2 separate regions of the Homo sapiens genome follow, and region 2 is linked to region 1. Evidence: promoter capture Hi-C in human tissues and cell types (Jung and others, 2019). All regions are on one chromosome and are shown on one strand. The core of a region is centred on a gene start or on the middle of the fragment in contact, and the rest is flanking DNA. Distances in the headings are between cores, read along the strand shown. Region 1 holds the start of QRICH2 (glutamine rich 2). Region 2 has its middle 3.5 kb from the start of MXRA7.

Region 1 (5,074 bases), core at 555-3,054:
CAAGAGGCAGAGATTGCAGTGAGCTGAGATTGTGCCACTGCACTCCAGCCCAAGTGACAGAGCAAGATTCCATCTCAAAAAAAAAAAAAGACTGCAAAGAACTAGTTATTTTGATAACCCCTTAAAGGCCTACTGTGTCCCAAGTTATTGGAATATAATGATGATCGAAAATCCTTCAATTAAATAAACAGTACCTCTCAGGCTGAAGTGAAAAATCTGAACTTGAACAGTAGTTAAAATAGTACAGTTATTCCTTACAATCCATGGGTGATTGGTTCCAGGACTCAACCTCCTGCCCATGGATGTGCAAGTCCCTGATAGAAAATGGTGTAGTATCTGCATATAAGCTATGCACATCCTGGATGACTTGTAATACCTACTGCAATATCCTGTGTAGATGGTGGTCATGCTGTATTATTTAGAGAATCATGACAGGAATCTGTACGTGTTCAGTCGTGGTTGGTTAAATCTGCAGATGCAGAGCTCACGGAGGAGGCTGGCCATGCATGGCACACATTCATAGGTTCTCTTTAAGTAGCCTTGCTGTGCTTCTGTTAGGAAGTTTTATTTATACGTTTTTGGGAAGAATCTTGTATGGGGAAGTCATGTCTCAATTGTTAACACCAGATTTGTCTCGTGCTGTTTAATCCTGCTTTGTAATGAGCTCAAGCACAGGCGCTTGACCAGGTGAGTGGTTTCTTTTCTTTTCTTTTTTTTTTTTTTTGAGACAGAGTCTTGCACTGTCGCCCAGGCTGGGGTGCAGTGGTGCGATCTTGGCTCACTGCAACCTCTGCCTCCCGGGTTGACGCGATTCTCCTGCCTCAGCCTCCCGAGTAGCTGGGATTACAGATGCGCGGTACCATGCCCGGCTAATTTTTTGTATTTTTAGCAGAGGGGTTTCACTATGTTGGCTAGGCTGGCCTTGAACCCCTTACCTCAGGTGATCCACCCGCCTCGGCCTCCCAAAGTGCTGGGATTACAGGTGTGAGCCACCAAGCCTGGCCGTTTTTTTGAGATCAATTAATTTATGGCAGGCTGGGCGCGGTGGCTTACACCTGTAATCCCAGCACTTTGGGAGGCCGAGGTGGGTCGATCACTTGAGGTCGGGAGTTCAAGACCAGCCTGGCCAACATAGTGAAACCCCGTCTCTGCTAAAAATACAAAAAATTAGCCGGGCATGGTACCACGCATCTGTAATCCCAGCTACTCGGGAGGCTGAGGCAGGAGAATCATGTCAACCCGGGAGGCAGAGGTTGCAGTGAGCCGAGATCGTGCCATTGCACTACAGCCTGGGCGACAGAGCAAGACTCCCTCTCAAAAGTAAAAAAAAAATTATGGCAGCACAGAAAAGGGACAATTAGCCACCAGTTAGTCATCTAGTGGCTAATTGGAACTGCCTGAATAGTGAGTGGGTTGTCTTTTCCAAGTTGCTTCACCTTTGATTGAACAAAATATGTGGACTGTCTGAGGGGACCAGGGCCCCAGGACTGCATCCCTTAGACATGGGGCCATAGACATGGGGCCACCACTCTGGAATGGACGCAGCTGATGACACAAAGCATGGTTGCCAGGAAACCCTCAAGTCTTTCCTTATGTGGCCCCGCCAAGAGTGAGTGAATCCTGGCCTTTCTAGGTTAAGGGGATGGATGGAGTCTAGCTGGATCTTAGGAGGCCTCCTCAGCCCGTTGCCAAGGCTCCCCTTGTGATCCTTGTGGTGGCCTTTACTTCCCCCCGCCCCCGTGGCTCGCAGGGAGGCGTGTTGTTACGTGGAATCTTCAGGGCACGCGGGGGCCCCCACGTTTCAAACGTCCGCCGGCGCGGGGACTGGGAGTCCAGGGCTCCAGCTCGGGGACCCGAGGCCAGCGACAGACAGCGGAGGGGTGGCCATCGCGGACCCCGCCGGGGAGCGGAGGCGCAGATTCCCTGGAGGCAGGAGCTCTGTCCAGTGACTCGGCCGGACCCGGGGCAGGGGCGCCCCGAGGACCTCGCAGGGCCCCCGAAAGGCCCCAAGGCGCGGCGTGCAGTGAGCGGGAAGTGGTTGGCCGGCGCCCCGCGGCGGCGCACAGCTCCTGACAGCCACGATGCCGCCCGCGACCACGGTCTCCCTCCGGGAGCTGGCGGACCTCTCCATCGGCACGCCAGAGGTGGGCGCCGTCAACTTCACGGCCCTGCACACGCTCATCGTGGCCATGCTCAAGAACCTCGACCTCCAAAATACCCGGATCGACTTCCAGCCCTCGTCGCCCGAGCCCAGCCGCTCGCTGCAGTCCGTCCGGAGCTCGTTCAGCATCCCGCACCTGCCCGCGCCCAAGGAGGTGCCCAAGGGGGCGCCCCGGGAGAAGCGCAGGGGCGTGGGCCAGGCGCCTTCGTCAGCGCTGGAGAGCCAAGTGAAGGACCTGGGCGGCCAGGTGGAGGACCTGAGCAAGCAGCTCAAGCGTGTGGACGGCCAGGTGCAGGGCATCGCCACGCACGTGCAGCACTTCTCCCAGGCCAGCGGGCTTGACCTGGCCGCGCTAGAGTGGCCGGAGGAGCAGGAGGTGGGCGTGCGGGCGTTCGATAGGGTGCGGACTGGGAGTATCATGAAGGACGCCGCCGAGGAGCTCAGCTTTGCCAGGGTGAGCACGCACACGGAGGCACGCGCAGGCCGTCTGCCTCCTCCAGGCCGCCCTCCAGGCCTAGCCGAGTCCCCACCACCCTGGAGGGGTGAGCGGTGGTGGGGACGGAGGGGATGGGGACCGAGGAGGTGCCAGACCTCAGTGCGACTGGCTAAATAGAGTGGCCCATGCTCTACCTTGCAGTCCACGGGGCTGCAAGACGTGAAAATCCTAAAAGAACGCCACCAAAAGGCCTAGGGCCTCCCCGAGCTGGAGGGGCCTGGGGACCCCACCTCCTAAGTGTAGTGGCCCCATCCCACCCCCTCCTTCCTAGCCCCTGTTTACGGGAGAGGTTCGCCCACCACTTATCAGACATCCAAGGACCCAGAGCTGGCTCAGAGTGGGGCCGGCAACTTCTCAGAAGATTCTTAGAGTGAATTCCCTTTTTAAAATGAATAAGGACATGAAGAGATACGTGTTGAGGACAAAGGCTCCCAGAGAAGGGGAGTCAGGATGGAGAGTTGGACCTCAGCTTCCTATGGCCATGACACAAGCCACAGCAGGCAGGGGACCGTTTCACTTGGACTTTTTTTTTTTTTGAGAAGGAGTCTCACTCTATCACCCAGGCTGAAATGCAGTGGTGCAGTCTCGGCTCACTGCAACTTCCGCCTCCCAGACTCAAGCGATTCTCCTGCCTCAGCCTCCCGAGTAGCTGGGATTATAGGCGCGCGCCACCCCGCCTGGCTAATATTTGTGTTTTTAGTAGAGAAGGAGTTTCACCATGTTGGCGGGGCTGGTCTCAAACTCCTGACCTCAAGTGATCTGCCCGCCTCGGCCTCCCAAAGTGCTGGGCATTACAGGCGTGAGCCACTGAGCCCTGCCTTCAACTGGACTTTTGTTTTCTTGGAGGGACAAATGCATGTAATCATTGAGTATAAGTATTGTCCAGTGAACAGCAGGAAGCAACGCAGGTCAGCGCCAGGAGGTAATAGACACGTGCATGTCTCAGAGCCACCTTAGGTTGGTTCTGAAAGAAAAAGCAGAAGCAACTAGGAAGGCAGCTGGGTGGGGAGGCCAAGAGGAGAGACAGGAGGGGAAAAAGAGGCCGGGAAGAGGCAGGAAGAAGAGGCCAAGCCCCAGCAGGGGAGCCCTGGCCGCTCATGCCCTCCTGCCATATCACCCCAGGTCTCGAGACCGCAGCACCAACTCACTTTTGCTCTGGGAAGCATGTCTGCTTTCCTTTTCAAACTTTAAAGTGTGGTGGGGGTTTTTTTTGTTTTAATTTTTTTGGGTTTTTTTTTTTTTTTTTTTTTTTTTGAGACACATTCTCACTCTGTCACCCAGGCTGGAGTGCAGTGGTGCATTGTCGGCTCACTGCAACTCCATCTCCTGGGTTCAAGGAATTCTCCTGCCTCGGCTTCCCGAGTAGCTAGGATTATAGGTGCACACCACCATGCCCAGCTAACTTTTGTACTTTTAGTAGAGATGGGGTTTTGCCGTGTTGGCCAGGCTGGTCTCGAACTCCTGACCTAAAGTGATCCTCCTGCCTCGGCTTCCCAAAGTGTTGGGATTACAGGCAAGAGCCACTGCGCCTGGCCTTTTGTTTTAATTTTTACGTAATCTTAGATTCTAGAAGTTTGCAAAAGTTATAAAAAGTAACTTGTTTTATTTTTGTTTATTAATATATTTTTTCTTAATCCCAAATATGATAGCACCTTATGTTGTAGCGATTTGCTTTGGTTCTTTTGAGGTGCTTTTCTCTTTAGATAGCACAGATGTTCAGCTACTGTTGAGGTACCTGGCACCCTTCCTTCCTTGTAAGGCAAGGTGGGCCTCATCCTACAGGCTTTCACAAGTGGGTTGGAGCAAACTGAATCCCAGGACCAAAGGGTCCCATCCCTGCAGCAGCACTTACTCCTGCCATGCTACCAGCCAGGTCCCCCACTGCATCTCACTTCCCTTCCTGCACTTGGCTGGGAAAAGACCCAGGAGCCTGGGCTGACTGGCCAGGTAAAAACCAGGTAGAAAGCAGGGGCTCCTGCCTGTAATCTCAGCACTGTGGGAGGCCGAGGCTGGAGGATTGCTCGGACCCAGGAGTTCAAGACCAGCCTGGGCAACATTGCAAGATCTTATCTCTACAAAAAAATGTTTAAAATTAGCTGGATGTGGTGGTGCATGCCTGAAGTCCCAGCTACTCAGGAGGCTGAGGTGGGAGGATCGCTTGAGCCTGAGAGGTTGAGGCTGCAGTGAGCTGTGGTGGCATCACTGCACTGCAGCTTGGGTGACAGAGCAAGACCCTGTCTCAAAAAAAAAAAAAAAAGGAAACCAAAAAAACCCAAGTAGAAGAAGAAACCCTCCCTTTCCATAAGAGCCACACAAATTCCCCCTTTCCTCGTCTCCTGGCACTGAGTCAGTGTGTGAATGTGCGTGTATGCATGTGTGTGTCTGAGTGTGAGAGTGTGTGTGCGCATCTGTGTGTG
Region 2 (5,005 bases), core at 1,539-4,038, 410 kb before region 1:
TGAATTTATCAAACTGGAATGTGCATTTCTCAACCCTCGATGTCCTTTCACAGCCATACTTAGACTCTTCCTGCCTTTTTAAATTGTTTCTATTATTACATATTTATAGATTTATATCTGCACTTGATCTGTGACTTTGTAATTTGTAAGAAAACTCTGGAGAAAGCCCTGCCATGACTTCCACGTGGGGTCCCGGGGGTCCTGCTTTTAACATTGCCTTCCAGCTTTGTACCCAGCATGCTGTCTACGTGCTGATTACAGGCAGTTGTGCTTTCCTTGGCAGGATTAGGGACACTTGTGGAGGCCGGGCTCACCCCTGAGCAGATAAAGAGACTCTCCCTGAGGTGCTTTCAGCGTAAGCTTTTGGCAGCCACCCAACTCAGTTCTCGCATCTTCTGCTCCTACCTTCTCCTCTGTCTTCTTTGAATTTGGATATTCCTTCCCTGGTCCAAGCTCCTATCTTCGGTCAAATGCTGTTTTTACTGCTTCCTAAGGATAGATTATCAAGAAATTTAACAGCTCGGCCAGCTCAGTGAAACACTGAAGCTAATGGGATGTTGGGTAAGAAGGTTCTGTGCTGTCTCATTGAAAACCGAGCCAGTCAACCACAAGGCTGGCAGGGTGTGATCCTTGTAACGTCTTGTGTCTGTTACCTCACGGATGTCGGTAAGGAGTTTCCACAGAGCCAGCTGTGTACCACAGAGACTGAGAGTGGTGAGTGGACTTTGTGAGCCAATTATGTGTCGGAAGGACTTGGAGTCTGCCCTTCTTCCTGTATGTCATCATCAGCCCACAAATGCATTCAGTGGCAGTGACCCAGCACCATCACCATCACCCACTGCTCAGTCTGTCTTAGGATTCCTTATCTTTTTCTCCATCATCATAGAGACTGAAATTTCAGGGGTGTTTTTGTACAGTGTATTTTTTTGTGGGGGGGTGATACATTGGGGTTTTTTGTTTGCATAGAGTGGGAACGGTGTGCAATGTGCTCTTACCACAGAACTTAAAGTATGAATAGGCTCCATTCTTCCGCACCATGGGATCCATAAGAAGTGCTCACTTTGCGAGGTACTCTGAGATTAGCGTTCCCCATTTGTTTGACCTACAGACGTTAAGTGGGTGACTTGTGTTACACACGGGGAGTAAATTCAGAGATGGCACCTGTAGTCTTTGCAGTCTGTTGATACTTCTAAATAACTAACTGGATGACTTTTTGGGGATTGACCAGCAGATGCCATCTCTTGCCCTCTTGATTCACCTGCTTGCCTTAATTTGTCCCTAAATTCAACTAAACTTCAATAAGAGGGGTTGTCAAGGCCATGGGGCGCACTTGGAAGCACTGCCTGGGCTGGAGCGTTGGAGGCATTGGCAGGCAGGTGGGAAGGAGCTCTCACTGCAGTGTTCACAGGCAGGGAGGCTGTGTGTGGATGTGTTAGAATTGTGTGCTGTTGCCTCTCAAAATATCCACTAGAAACAGGTGTAACCAGGAAAATACAGGTCTCTGCTCACTGTTATTAACAGACTGTCATTTCCTGACATTGGGTCATGTGGCTTTACTCTAGGAGGCTGGTTCTCTATTTTTGTCTTAGTTCAATTTTCTGCATCCTCAAATGCCAACCCCAGTATGTGGCTGGGTAGGTAGAACTGTGCTGCCTGCCTGCCATGGGGGCTGCTCTCCCTCCTTACCCCCACGCCCACAGCCCCCTTGGTTCTGTGGTGGGCACAGGATGTGTTTGGGTGTGAGTAAAGTCAAACTCTGAATGTATAATCTCTTGGTAGTAATATCTGAGTGGTGTTGCTACTCCTGCTTTTTAAAAAGACTTTTCTTGCCATCTATAAAAAGCTTTTTTCTTTTTCCCAGCATTGCTCCTGTGCTGCCACGCTTGCCCTTTTTCCTTACCTTCCTTTCAGTTTTCTATCAACAACTCCTCTAAACTTCAGTTTAAAATAAAAAACAGCCCAAAAAGGCTCTTTGCCACCAGGGGGCGTGGTAGGACACGTTGCCAGTGGTCTGGATAGGGGAGCAGAAATTTTGAATTTTAAAAATTAGCCACCAAGGCCAGGTGCAGTGGCTCACACCTGTAATCCCAGCACTTTGGGAAGCTGAGGCAGGGGGATTGCTTGAGTCCAGGAGTTCAAGACCAGTCTGGGCAACATAGTGAGATCCCATCTCTCAAAAAAATAATAATCTAGAAAATAAAGATTAGCCACCCAGTTTTCTTTCTCCAGATGCTAAAGTTGATTCCTGTTTGATAACAGTATTCCAGAAATGAGGGGAATAACATATCTGATAGGCCCAAGTCAGCTCTGGATAGTACAGTGTCTGGATAGTACAGATTCTGTGCTCCTGGGACATGCTTTGTTTATTCCTGCCAGGCCAGGGATTCAGCAGCCCTATTCCCCAACCCCCGTTACTGTCTCTGTGGGCTAGCCAGGCTGTCCGTTATGTAAGCACAACAGGGGCAAGGTGGGGAAACCGTGTGTGGAAAAGGAGTGGAGTGGTGGCGGGTGGCCAAGGTAGACTAGGAAGAGTGGGTACCCAGAGACCACTTGTTCAGAAGTTAACTCCTCTTCCCATCTGGCGTGAGCTACTCCATTGAATGGTGCCAACAACAGTAAAGTGAAGGAGATAATGTTAGATTATTTTCAGGGATGATTCTCCAAGATGACAGCAGATCTTAAAACCAAAGAGCTGGGTCCTGGAAGAAGGGATCTTGGATTATTAACTTCTGATGGAAGGACCAGAGTGGGAGAGAGAAGAGTTGGGGACCTAGAACATCAGGAGGACCCTGGGTCTTTGGGGATGAGGCTTCACCATCAGCTGGAAGAATCCATGCTTCACACACATGCCTCTGCCATTAGTGGTACTGGGATGTTTAGGGTGACATCCTTGAGGGGAGAGCCACTGAAAAGAGGGACATTCACATTTTGCTGTATTCTTGCAGCTGTCCGTGTCTTAATAATTCAAGCGTTCAATAGGTGTTTGAGGGCCAGGCACTGCTCTTGAGGTGCTGGAGATAACGGTGACAAGCCCAGGTCCCTGACAAGCTCCACAAGCTTAATGGACAGTGAATGTGCGGCTGTTGCGGCTGTTCACAGGGCCGCTGGTGAGGGCAGGTAGAAGAAAGTGCAGACCTTCTTAAATGCAGGTGTAACGGATCTACATGAAAGAGCATAATTAACACCAATGTATACTTAAGGTAGTAACAGCTTCTTCATAAAGTAGCAAAACTAAGGATCTGTGGGAAGGTTGCTGGTGCAAATGCTTTATAAGCTTACTAGAGACTGAGCCTTGGATTTAGGACTTTAGACGAGTATAGGATGGAACAAAATTTTTGCAGTAAATGTAAAAAATGCTGTGTAGGAGGAAGGCGTATAAGGATGCCCCAGCTGTAGGTTCTTTAGATTGTCTGTAGTATTTCCACGAGTAAGTTGTTTTTGATGTGTGTACTGGTATTGCTGGTAGATTTGAAGTGGAGTCTGGCGGCTTCTTCCACACTCCCCTCCCACTAGCTTGTGTCAAGATGTGACATCCTATGCAGCAAAACTAGGTGAGCTTGCACCCCCAGGCGGTGGCTCTCAACTTTGTCTCATTGTTCAGAAATTTCGGCCAGGCGCCGTAGCTCACCCCTGTAATCCCAGCACTTTGGGAGGCCATGGCAGGTGGATCACTTGAGGTCAGGAGTTCAAGACCAGCCTGGCCAACACGGTGAAACCCCGTCTCTACTAAAAATACAAAAATTAGCCAGGTGTGGTGGCACATGCCTGTAGTCCCAGCTACTTGGTCAACTCAGGCAGGAGAATCACTTGAACCCAGGAGGCAGAGGTTGCAGTGAGCTGAGATCAAGCCACTCCAGCCTGGGTGACAGACCGAGACTCTGTCTTTAAAAAAAAAGAAATGTCATCTAAGCCCCAGTGAACCTCCTGGGAGGAGAGCTAGCCCTGGCCAGCTGTCTCCAAAGTGACTGGATGCTACAGAAGAACTGGGACTGTCTTCTGCACACTCGTGCCTCCTGGAGTTGTCAGAACACTGAGCAGTCTCCTAGTTCTGCGTCCGTCTAGCCATGGGGTCTGCCATGAAAGCCTGTGGATCTGCTATTGGGTTGGTATTTTAAACTTTCACTTGGGTGAAACTTGTTCATCATTTTAAATAAAGCAACATGATTTGGAGTTGTGTTTTTGGCATTGTTTTGTCCTTATTTTCTTTCTTACTCATTTGAAAGTCAACAATGTACTTTGTCAGCAGAACAGGACTTTAAAAAAATGTATTTACACTTTAAAACAATGGGATGGAGCACAAAATTAAGGCCCTGGGCCAGGAGCATTGATGCACACCTGTAATCCCAGCTGCCCAAGAGGCTAAGGCAGGAGGATCACTTGAGCCCAGGATGTCGAGGCTGCAGAAAGCTATGATCATGCCTGTGAATAGCCACTGCACTCCAGCCTGGGCAACATAGTGAGACCCTGTCTCTTTAAAAAAAAAAAAAGAAAGAAAGACCCTGTCTCTTTAAAAAAAAAAAAAAAAAATTGGCTGGGCGCGGAGGCTCACGCCTGTAATCCCAACACTTTGGGAGGCTGAGGCAGGCAGATTGCCTGAGGTCAGGAGTTCAAGACCAGTCTGGCCAACACGGTGAAACCCTGTCTACTAAAAACAGAAAAAAATTAGCCGGGCATGGTGGTGGGCGCCTGTAATCCCAGCTACTCAGGAGGCTGAGGTGGGAGTTTCGCTTGAACCCGGGAGGTGGAGGTTGCAGTGAGCCGCGATTGCGCCACTGCACTCCAGCCTGGGCAACAGAATAAGACTCCATCTCAAAAGAAAAAAAATAGGCCCATACACTGGCTGAAACTTCCACAGTGGTTAAAAGCTAGTCGCCCGTAGATAAAGCCTATTTCACATTTTATAGTTTATAGGCTCTTTTCATCAACCACCACTAAAAGGAAGTGCATGGCCCGCTTAATATCGTGCAGTGCAGCAGAATTCAGCTCTCCCTGTTGCTGAGGGGTC

Evidence for each region. The method cuts DNA at HindIII sites, captures the fragments that hold promoters and counts their contacts. A contact is called where the count stands out against the background at its distance.
Region 2: a contact is called between a fragment that was not itself captured here and the fragment with the promoter of QRICH2 in region 1, in 1 of the 25 tissues and cell types used here (dorsolateral prefrontal cortex).

What each region holds. Positions count from the first base shown.
Region 1 is chr17:76,305,006-76,310,079 of GRCh38, reverse strand. It overlaps QRICH2 (glutamine rich 2), which reads left to right and starts at 1,804. Exons shown (of 19, transcript NM_001388453.1): 1 at 1,804-2,615. The coding sequence starts at 2,082. It overlaps PRPSAP1 (phosphoribosyl pyrophosphate synthetase associated protein 1), which reads left to right. Exons shown (of 10, transcript NM_002766.3): 10 at 1-602. The HindIII fragment of the contact is 11,814 bases long and covers 1-5,074 here.
Region 2 is chr17:76,712,001-76,717,005 of GRCh38, reverse strand. It overlaps a transcript of JMJD6 not described here. Among named protein-coding and RNA genes, the nearest start is that of MXRA7, 3.5 kb to the right of the region's middle. The HindIII fragment of the contact is 3,371 bases long and covers 1,103-4,473 here.